Linked DNA regions of Homo sapiens: region 2 is linked to region 1. The links are contacts of gene promoters, found by promoter capture Hi-C in blood cells and fetal thymus (Javierre and others, 2016). All regions are on one chromosome and are shown on one strand. The core of a region is centred on a gene start or on the middle of the fragment in contact, and the rest is flanking DNA. Distances in the headings are between cores, read along the strand shown.

Region 1 (4,942 bases), core at 1,729-4,228:
ACACATGGTGAGACCAGGATTCTTAAGGGCCAGTGATTTTTTAGCTATAGCCTGTGGTCATCTAGGACTCTGTGCAAGGGCCTCAGATGCTGCCTGTCATGCAAAACAGGTCAAAGGGCTACCTGCGCTTACAGAAGCAGCTCCACCTTTAGCAGTTCTGTACTTAAGTCTTCAAGTTTTCATTTGAAAAAACCCCACTGCAAAGACGTATGAAAGCCATTGCTACAACTCATTTCTAACTCTCCAGTACCTAGGCCCAAAACAAGAAAGATAACACCTGAAAAGGCCCAAGCCTCTGCCTGCCACCAACCGCTGCTGATGGTCTTAATCCAGACAGACCACTGGCACATCATCTTTCCATCTGTAACTCCTGGCCTAATTTCCCCCACCATGCTAATGCTCATCGGTGTTTAAGACCTTATTGTGCAAGGGAATCACCAAGGGACCTTGTTAAAAATCCAGATTCTGATCCAGTAAGTAGTCTGGGTCCTGAGATTGTGTATACAAGTTCCCAGATGATGGTGATGCTGCCCTGTGGACAACTCTAGCAAAGGACTACAGTAAGGTTGTGGAGACTCTCCCTCCTCCTCCTCCGCTGTACCCATGACCTAGGCTGCAGAAATCCGACAGGATACACCAGTGACAGGGAAAGATATGACAATTAGGCTTTGTTTGGGGATGACTTGTCCCTTGGAGTAGGCTTTCTGTAAAGCAGGCCGAAAGGTCCACAGAAAAGGTCAGCCAGGTAGGATGTCCCAAAGTTGCCCCTGCTGAGACCAGGTTGGTCCAGAGACAACTCCCAACTTACATGATACACCCAATGGACCACACATCCACCTCGAAACTGTGCCCTTTCTTGCTCAGCACCTCGGGAGCTATGTAATTAGGAGTCCCACACAGGGTCTTCTTCCTCTCCCCGTCATATTCGACTTTGGTTGCCAGTCCAAAATCCCCTGGGACAGAGGGAGGAAGAGTTGGTACTTAGATGCCAGCCTCTGACATCTGTCAATGCAGAAGGCTAGTTAAGGTTTGACCATCCAGAACCAGGGCCATCTGATCCCACAAGCCTCTGCTCCTTGTATGTAGCAAGGCTTGCCCAGGAATCTTCCTCCCATGCTGACACCAGGGAGGTGCCTCCAGTGACACTTCTCACCCCTCCTTTTAGAAAGGGGCTATGCTTTGAAACAGGAACTGACAGGGATAGTAAAACTCCAATGCCTTCAAGGATCAAGCAAGTTAACCTCCAAGACTTGGCAAGTCTGTGAAGAATAGGGAGGAGTAGAGACTGTGGCAAAGAAGTCTGAAGGGGACAGCTGTTTTCCAGCCCAGCAAAGGGCTGCCCTAAGAAAATGCTGTCCTCGTATTACTGAAGCTTTCACCTGTTTAAAAGGAGTTCTGAATCAAACTTTTTGTTCAATCAAACCTTCCAATTTAAAAAATAAAAACAAATTCAAATTCTTTGTAAAAAAAAAATATTGCATTGGGGCACAAAAAAATAATGCATCTGTAGGCAAGATACTGACTTGTGGGTTGTCTCCTTCCTTTCTCCCAGCCTCCTCCAAATTCCAGCCTCTTGTAGTGATGTCAAGCACCCCTGCAGGCTCAGCAACTCACCTATTTTCACCTCCAGATCTTCATTCAGGAAAAGGTTGCCCAGCTTGAGGTCTCGATGAATAACTCGGTTTCGGTGCAGGTACTGGCAGCCAAGCACAATTTGCCGTAGGTAGTATCGGGCCTCAGGCTCAGTCAGGGCTTTCCTCCTCTTGTGCAGCTCCAGGAGAGACTGTGGGTGGGAAGGAGAGGGCAGGAGGGATGGGGAGGTGGATTGAGGCCGGTGGGGAAGGGAGAGGGTTACCAGGCAAAGGAAGCACAGGACTGGACTCTGGACTCCCAAGGGATGAAAGAGGGGTCTTGGTGGGTTTCTCTCCTTCCCTATGCCCCCACCCCATTCCTTCTCCAGCACAGCGGCATCTGGACCCTGCCTTAACACTGTCCACAACCATTCGCAGCACCCCTTCTCCTACTAGCTTCCCCCCTTACCTGGGGGTCCTCTCTCAGCCCCACTCCGGAAGCTCCGAGTCCCCAGCACCAGATCCCTTTCCTGACTCGTATCTCCCCCGGAAGGCCCGAAGTCTGGCTCCAACTACCCCCCCACTGACCCAGCTCCACCCCAGAAGCTCCCAGGGCGCGGCATCACTAACCTGGGACTCCTCCCTGGGTACTCCAGGGCCCTAGCGTCCATTACCAGCACCCCTCCCCCCAGCACCTCGCGTCCAGAAGCTGACTTCCCTATCAGCAACATGACTCAGACTCCACTTCACTGGAACCCCCTCCTCTAGCAGCTCCCAGAGCCAAGAAGCCCTTACCAAAGACACTTTCCATACGTAAGCGGGAGGCTCCCAGCACCCTTCTCTAGCAGCTCCAAGTCCCAGGCTCTCCCTTGCTGGGTACTCTTTCCAGCAGCTCCAGGTCTGGGCGCTCCAACTGCCCCGCAGGCAGTTCCAGTTCCCCAGCAGCGACACTCACCCTCCGGCGGCAGAGCTCCAACACCACGAACACGAAGTCGTTGTCCTCGAAAAAGCCGTGGAATCCTACGACGTGCTGGTGGGCGAGGCTGCGGTGAATGGATATTTCCATGGACATCTTCTCCCTCTGGTGCGGCTTGAGCAGCAGAGACTTAGGCACAATCTTGCCCGCGAACACCTCCTTGGTGTCCGCGTCCGAGATCTCGAAGCACTTGGCAAAGCCGCCCTTGCCCAAAAAGCGGCCCCGCACATAGCGCCGCCGGCTGCGTGGGTCCACTAGGACCTCCGGGATCTCTTTCGCCGGTGGAGCCGCCGCCGGAGCTCCGGGAGCTGCAACTCCGGGGACCCCGGCTTTCCCAGGGTCGGCCGGTGCCCGTGCCAGCTTCCCTGCAGTCACTGCAGCACTCATGCTCCCGAAGCTGCGCTGCAGACCTCGATCCGAGCAGAGCCTCCGCACCGCTCCGCTCCTCCCCGAATTCAAACGCGGCGCTGGGAACGTTACAAAAGCCTGCGCGCCACTGATTGGCCGCGGGGATTTAAAATCCAAACCCGCCCGCCGCGCGGCACCATGGGAGCGCCCTGCGCAGCAGCAGCCTTTAAACCCGGACCCAGCCGGGGAAAACCTGATTGACACGGACGCCCGAACACGTGGGATAGCCTGGGAAACCAAACCCGGCGTGGATGCGGAGACCCAGCCCCGAGAGAGGAGGAATTCCTTCGGGGTTTCTCCCTTTCTCGGGCGTCCGGGAAAGCTCCTGCGGTTCACTTGCGCCTCCTCCAGGAAGCTTTTACTTAAATCTTCCTCTACCTCGGGGCCAGGGAACAGTAGCATCGCCATCACCTGAGAGCTTGTTAGAACCGCAAAGGCAAACGTTCAGGCCCTACCCCAGACCTCCCGAGTCAGTGTCCGCCTCTCAACAAGACTGCTCAGGTGATTCCTACACATCCTGAAGTTGGAGAAGCACAGTACCAGAGCCCCCCATGATGCAACGAAGCTGTCTGGCCTCCTCGCTACTGAATTTCCCAGGGCCTAAAATAGTGGACACTCAGTTTCTTGGTCAGAGGGAGGGAAGGTTGGAAGAATGCCTAGCAAACTGGCAGGTCATAGCCAAATGTGTCTTGCGGGGTTTTGTTTGGCCTCCCCCCACGCCTTTTTTTTGTGTGTGTGACGGAATCTTGCTCTGTCGCCCAGGCTGGAGTGCAGTGGCACGATCTCAGCTCACTGCAACCTCTGCTTCCCGGGTTCAAGCAATCCTCCCGCCTCGGCCTCCCTAGCAGCTGGAATTACAAGCATGCACCACCATGCCCGGCTAATTTTTGTAATTTTAGTAGAGAAGAGGTTTCACCATGTTGGCCAGGCTGGTCTTGAACTCCTGACCTCAAGTGATCTGCCCCTCGGCCTCCCAAATGCTGGGATTACAGGCGTGAGCCACCGCGCCCCGCCATTGTAAAACATTTACAGCATTTAAAAGAGGAGCTCATAAAAGTTGGGATTTGTGGCCTTTCCTGAAAAAAATCAGCTCTAGCTACTTACTCTGTGCCTACATGCTTTCAGTTTGCCACAGTTTACAGCTACACCCGTTTGTTCTGTAGGTACTTGAGTGGCAACCCTGGAACAGTAAAATACCCACGTTAAAAGCTCTTTCTCTGTGCCTCCTTAGCACCCTCTGATCCTTCATAGAGCCCAGCAAAAATCAACCATACTATAAGCATCCTTCACCTGCCTTGCAGCTAAGCTGAAGGACAATGAGGACAATGATGCCGTCCTTTCTACCCCATGTCCCAAGCTCCCAGAGCAGTGCTTGGTAAAAAAAAAAGGGTACTTACTAAAATGTTGGCTGAATAAAAGGAAGACTTTGAAAAATTAAGTTATTTTGTACCCCTATAGTGTGAATTCTTTTTATTGAAATTTAATACACTTACAGAAAAAAATGTACATATTATAATTGTTCATAGAGCTCAGTGAATTTTCACAAACTGAACAAATCTGTAAACCACACCCAGATTGAGAAAGGGAACATGACAAACACCCTGCAAGTCTCCCTTGTGCCCTGTGCTGGGGGGTGCCAACACCACCACCTCCTAGTCTGATGATGTACTAGGAGATTCACAGACTCAGCCTGTAGTCATACTCATGGCTATGTTTTACTACAGCGAAAGGCTAGGAAGCAAAATCAGCAAAGGAAAAAAGCGCATGGACAAAGTCCAGGGAAACCAGGTGTAAGCCTCCCACAGTCCTCTCCCAGCAGAGTCACATAGGACACAATTCCTCCAGCAATCAGTTGTGACAACCCATGTGCAATGTTGTATACAAGGGAAGCTCATTACAGACTCAGTGTTCAGGGTTCTCATTGGGAGCTGCTCACCTCATCCTCTGCCTAACACATATGAAAATCTGACTCCCAGAAGGAAAGCAG
Region 2 (4,942 bases), core at 1,718-4,217, 360 kb before region 1:
ACCAGGCTGAAGAAGACTTCCACGGAGACCACACTCTCGCCAAGCTTTTTCCCTGCCTGAGGAAGGAAGCATGGTTCCTTCACTTCTCTTTTCCCATGAGCAGCCCAATAAATCACTGGAACAAAATCCCCATCTTGGCTCTATTTTTAGAGAACTCGGCCACAGCATCAGGGCTCTCTTCTATCATCCATCAATCAACAAGCCCATGCTGAGTACAGGCTGTGCCCAGCATGGTGTATGGGCAATTGCAGGGCATTGTGACATGGGGCCAGAGGCCCAGGTGCTCACCCCTGCTCAGCATGTGACATTGGTCAGGGTGTTCAGCCTTGCTGAGACTTCGTTTTCCCTTCCATGATGGCAACAACGTGCCCTTTCCCGAATGGTGTGATATCAAAGTATTTGGAAAAGCACAAAGTGCTATTAAACTTCTTTATACATTTGCCTGCTCTGAACATCCCAAAGAAATGAAATCCTACAATATGCCAGGGTCTCACTATGTTGGCCAGGCTGGTCTTGAACGCCTAGTCTCAAGCAATCCTCCTGTCTTAGCCTCCCAAAGTGCTGGGATTACAGGTGTGAGCCACCACACCTGGCCTTTTTTGTTTGTTTGTTTTTCTTGTTTTTGTTTTATGAGACGGAGTCTTGCTCTGTCACCCAGGCTGGAGTGCAGTGGTGCAATCTCAGCTCACTGCAACCTCCACCTCCCAGGCTCAAGTGATCCTCCTGCCTCAGCCTCCCAAGTAGCTGGGATTACAGTCGTGCACCACCACACTTGGCTAATTTTTTGTATTTTTAGTAGAGATGATGTTTCGACATGTTGCCCAGGCTGACTCCTGAGTTCAAGTGATCCACCCACCTCGGTCTTCCAAAGCGCTGGGATTATAGGCATGAGCCACTGTGCCTGGCCTATTGTTTTTTTCTTTTTCTTTTCGTTTCTTTTTTTTTTTTTTTAAACGTCTTGTCTTAAGCCACCCAGTTTGTGGTATTTTGTTATGGCAGCCACAGCAAATGGATACACCTCCTATCAGTGTGTCCTGAGAAGCGGGGGCTTGTGATCCAGGTTCTCAAAGTTCACAGCATATCTATGATTAAGGGGGAAGACTTTGACCTTGAACTTGAAGAAATATTGTACTGTACCACATCAGAACAAAGACTCCCTAAGGAATGCCCATAGGAGGTGCCCTAGCCAAACCACAAAAGGAATAAATACGGTGGAGGGCATAGAGAAACGAAACGAAACTAAACTAAACAAAAAAGTAACCTACTATATAGTACTTTTGAGTCAAACAGACCTAGGTGAGGAAATGTGTTTTCTGATGGGTAGAATGATAACTTAACTCATTTGAGTTGTTGAAACAATGTAAATCAGATACTGCCTGTAAGTGCTTTTCACAATGATTAACACATTTTAAAAACTAAACACATCTTAGCTATTGTTTTATTATTATTGCAAATGGTGTGAGCTCTTGGAATATAACTTCTCTGAGCCGTGGCTTCTTTGTTCATAAAACAAGAATAATAGAAGGTTGGGCGCAGTGGCTCACACCTGTAATCCCAGCACTTTGGGAGGCCGAGATGGGCGGATCACTTGAGGTCAGGAGTTCTAGACCAGCCTGGCCAACGTGGTGAAACCCTGTCTCTACTAAAAATACAAATATTAGCCAGGCGTGGTGGTGGGCGCCTGTAATCCCAGCTACTCAGGAGGCTGAGGCAGGAGAATCGCTTGAACCCGGGAGGTGGAGGTTCCAGTGAGCTAAGATGGCGCCACCACACTCCAGCCTGGGCAACAGATGGAGTCTCCCTCTCAAACAAGAATAATAGAGATTTCACAATGTTGTGAAGGTGGAAAGAGATAACACGTAAGGTTTAGAGCACTGCACATCCCATGCGGCCCATAAATGTTGGCTGCCCGCAGTCATGCTTTGGAACGAGTGTATTTCCCACAGAATGACACCAGAGGGAAGCAGAGTCTCATATTTGTCTCACCAGCATCGGGAACCTCAATCAGTGGGGAAAACTGGCTTCCCTTGAACCTGAAACTGCGGGATTTCCCCTGGGGCCCCCAAGCATCACACTGGGAGGCAGGCGACCACTTGGAGGAAAACATAATGCAATGGATTGCACATTTTCTAAAATCTCACTGGGCTTCACGAAATCTCAAGTTTAAAAGAATTATATTGTACAGGGATAAGTATTTTTCAGCTTTTACACAATCTACGTAAAGCCCCTCCGCAACCCAGGGCTCAATGCATCAGAGCTACTGAACCAGTCTGAGGCCTCAGAAACACTAATTTTTGCAAAATTAATCTCTTCCATGATCAATTTCCTGAGTTACCAACTCATAAACCCTTATTTATATTCATTAGATATATAAAGTCCACAGTAGTTTGTCACTAGCCTTTGAGAAGAAATTCCTGCAAAGTTTTAGCTCCACTCCCAGCCAGCTCAGTGCTGGTTATACCGGGGCTTATGGCTGAGTATTCCTCAAGCCAGTGCTGCTGAGTTCCAATTTTGCTTGAACTTCCCATATCAGAGCCAGGTATGTCTTGAATGCTGGGATACATGAGTGACAGCCCCACCACCACCACCACCACCACCACCAGCAGCTCCTCCTCTCACTGCATCTCCCAGGAGACTGTACCATCCTGCTTTCTAATTATCATGAAATATTTTAGACATGCAGAAAATATAGAGAATAATAAAATTACAGCATAGCCACCATCAGGTTCAAGAAAGAAATATTTCAAATATGTGGAAAGCCCCTGAATTGCACCCTCCAACCCTCCTCCTTCCCAAGATATTATATTCTCCAAATCTGGGGTTTATCATCAAGACTCCATTTTTCCTGCTGGAAAAGTTTGCGGAAGAAGCAAGCTTCCCTTCTCTGCTATCTGAGTAAAGGAAATGCAACTACCCATCCCAAAAGATTACTAAAAAAGAGTGGGAAATGAGAAGGAGAGAAGGGAAGTGGAGGATCCTGAGGAAGTTAGAAGTCCAAGGAACTCAGACGTCTCCTCTCTGAACCCAAGTCAGCCTGGGGTGCTGATGGACGAAGCTTTGAGGGTGTACAGTTTCTAAAGATCCCCCTGCTGCAGGGAGGGGCTGTCATGGGCAGGGCATGGGGCAGAAGCAGTGCCACACCCCCTCCCCGTCCCTGGACTGCCCCACCCCTCCACTGGACTGCCCCACCCCTCCGCCACCCTCCCCTTCTCAATCACACAGGTCAAGCAAGGTCAGGAGCCAGTGGAGCCCCAGGGCCACCTACCGAGGACAATGAGGACGTCCCTGTCGATGTGGGCCTGGATGTAGATGCGGCCGCGGCGCTCCGTGTGGTCCGTGCCACACAGGCTGGGAACATTCATCACGCAGCGCTTGTGCACATTCATCATGCAGGCTGTGAGGGCAGAGAGAGGGGATGTGGCTTAGGCTGGCCCAGGCTGGGGGCTGCAGACATCTGCCCCACCCAAGACCGCTGAGCCCTTCCTGTTTCCCTCCTTTGAGACAGCTGAGACACACGAGCCTGGCTGAGACCAACTTGCCTGCCAGGATCTCATCAGAAGGGCTTTTCCAACTCTTCCCCCTGAACCCTGATGGGCAAAGGAGGTAGAACTTGTCTGTTCCCCACCCACAGCCAAGGGTGCAGTCTGAAGCAAGCACACCCCACACCCCTTAAGGCTCTGAAGCCAGAGTCACCAACTTCAATGCTCACAGGCTGGCTGGTCACATGAGTGAGGAAAGCTAAGGGGGTGGCAGGGACTTGGCCAAGCCAAGTGGGAAACAGAGCAAAAACATTCCCCATTTCTCAACGTATGCAGGAATCTCGATGTGTACGTGACAGCTCTGATTTTTAAATATTAACAGCTAATAGGTTGGGCTCCCTGGAAAGAGTCTGAGACGGGGAGTTTTGAGCACAAGGTTTTTGGGGAGTGCTCTTGTGGGGAGAAGTTCGTTTGCCACGTGGATGCAATCAAAGCTGATGTTAGGGGGAGCCCAGAGCTGAGATGACCCTTCAGAGTTGTTCCAAACTGAGACAAGAGGGCTGGGCACCACAATCATCTGGTCTCCCTGGAAGAGGCATTATCTTGGGCAATTATGCAGGATGGGGCACTGCTGTGAACCACAGCTAGGGGATGGGGTGGGACCATGAAGAGGGGGTCTGGGCTGGCCATAGTGTCCACCATAATTAATTACAAGGAAAAAGATTTAGAGCCAGGGCAGGGTGGATAAAATGTGCCTATACACTGAATTTGGCCTTCGGCCATCTCTCATGTTATAGGATATCCACTCCCTCTGCGCACTCCTCCGTAGAGTATCTGTGTCTATTTCAATGTGGTGGGTGATTTCTTCTAGGTCTTGAGCAATAATGCCCCACTCCAGGAAGGTGTGCCAGGCACCCAGGATTCTCCAGGGGGACGCTAGTTCCAGTTGGAGAAGCCAGAAGGAGAGGCCAAGTCACCCCATGGGCCCCTATTTCAAGGGATCTGGGGGCAAGGGACCCTTCTCAGACCACCCAAGTCCCAGGAGGCAGCAGGCCTATTACAAAAACTAGAAATGAGTTGTGGGGAGGGAAGGGAGAGCCCTCTGGGACCTGAGCACCAGCCTGAGCTCCCACCCACCACTGTCTCTGAGGCAGGGACATTGTCCCTATATTAGGGCCCCATGTGTGGTAAGAGGAGCTGGTGTCCTGCAGGCAGAAGGCTCCAACCTCACTGTCCCCCTGTGGCTCTTGCCATGTTTCTGTGTCTGTCTCTCTGTTTCCACGTTGCTGCATGTCTCTTGTCTCTGCTGTCCCACTTCTGCACGTGGCTCACTGCCTTGGCCGTGTCTGTGAATCGGTCTGTTCCACTCTCTGCACTTGTCTCTGGCCTCTTTGTCTCTCCCTTTCTCCAACTGTGTCTCTCTGCCTCTCTCCTCCGTGTCTCTCTGTGGCTCTCCATGTGTG

The links. Contacts are between HindIII fragments. The CHiCAGO score rates a contact against its expected background, and 5 or more counts as called.
Region 2: a fragment that was not itself captured here is called in contact with the fragment with the promoter of PLK1 in region 1 in 5 of 17 cell types (M1 macrophages, megakaryocytes, total CD8 T cells and 2 more); the score reaches 7.0 in M1 macrophages.

Annotation. Positions count from the first base shown.
Region 1 is chr16:23,676,925-23,681,866 of GRCh38, reverse strand. PLK1 (polo like kinase 1) reads right to left here and starts at 2,978. Exons shown (of 10, transcript NM_005030.6): 1 at 2,527-2,978; 2 at 1,615-1,783; 3 at 809-953. The coding sequence starts at 2,934. It overlaps DCTN5 (dynactin subunit 5), which reads right to left. Exons shown (of 6, transcript NM_032486.4): 6 at 4,395-4,942. The HindIII fragment of the contact is 1,938 bases long and covers 1,375-3,312 here.
Region 2 is chr16:24,033,871-24,038,812 of GRCh38, reverse strand. It overlaps PRKCB (protein kinase C beta), which reads right to left. Exons shown (of 17, transcript NM_002738.7): 5 at 3,266-3,394. Among named protein-coding and RNA genes, the nearest start is that of MIR1273H, 170 kb to the left of the region's middle. The HindIII fragment of the contact is 181 bases long and covers 2,877-3,057 here.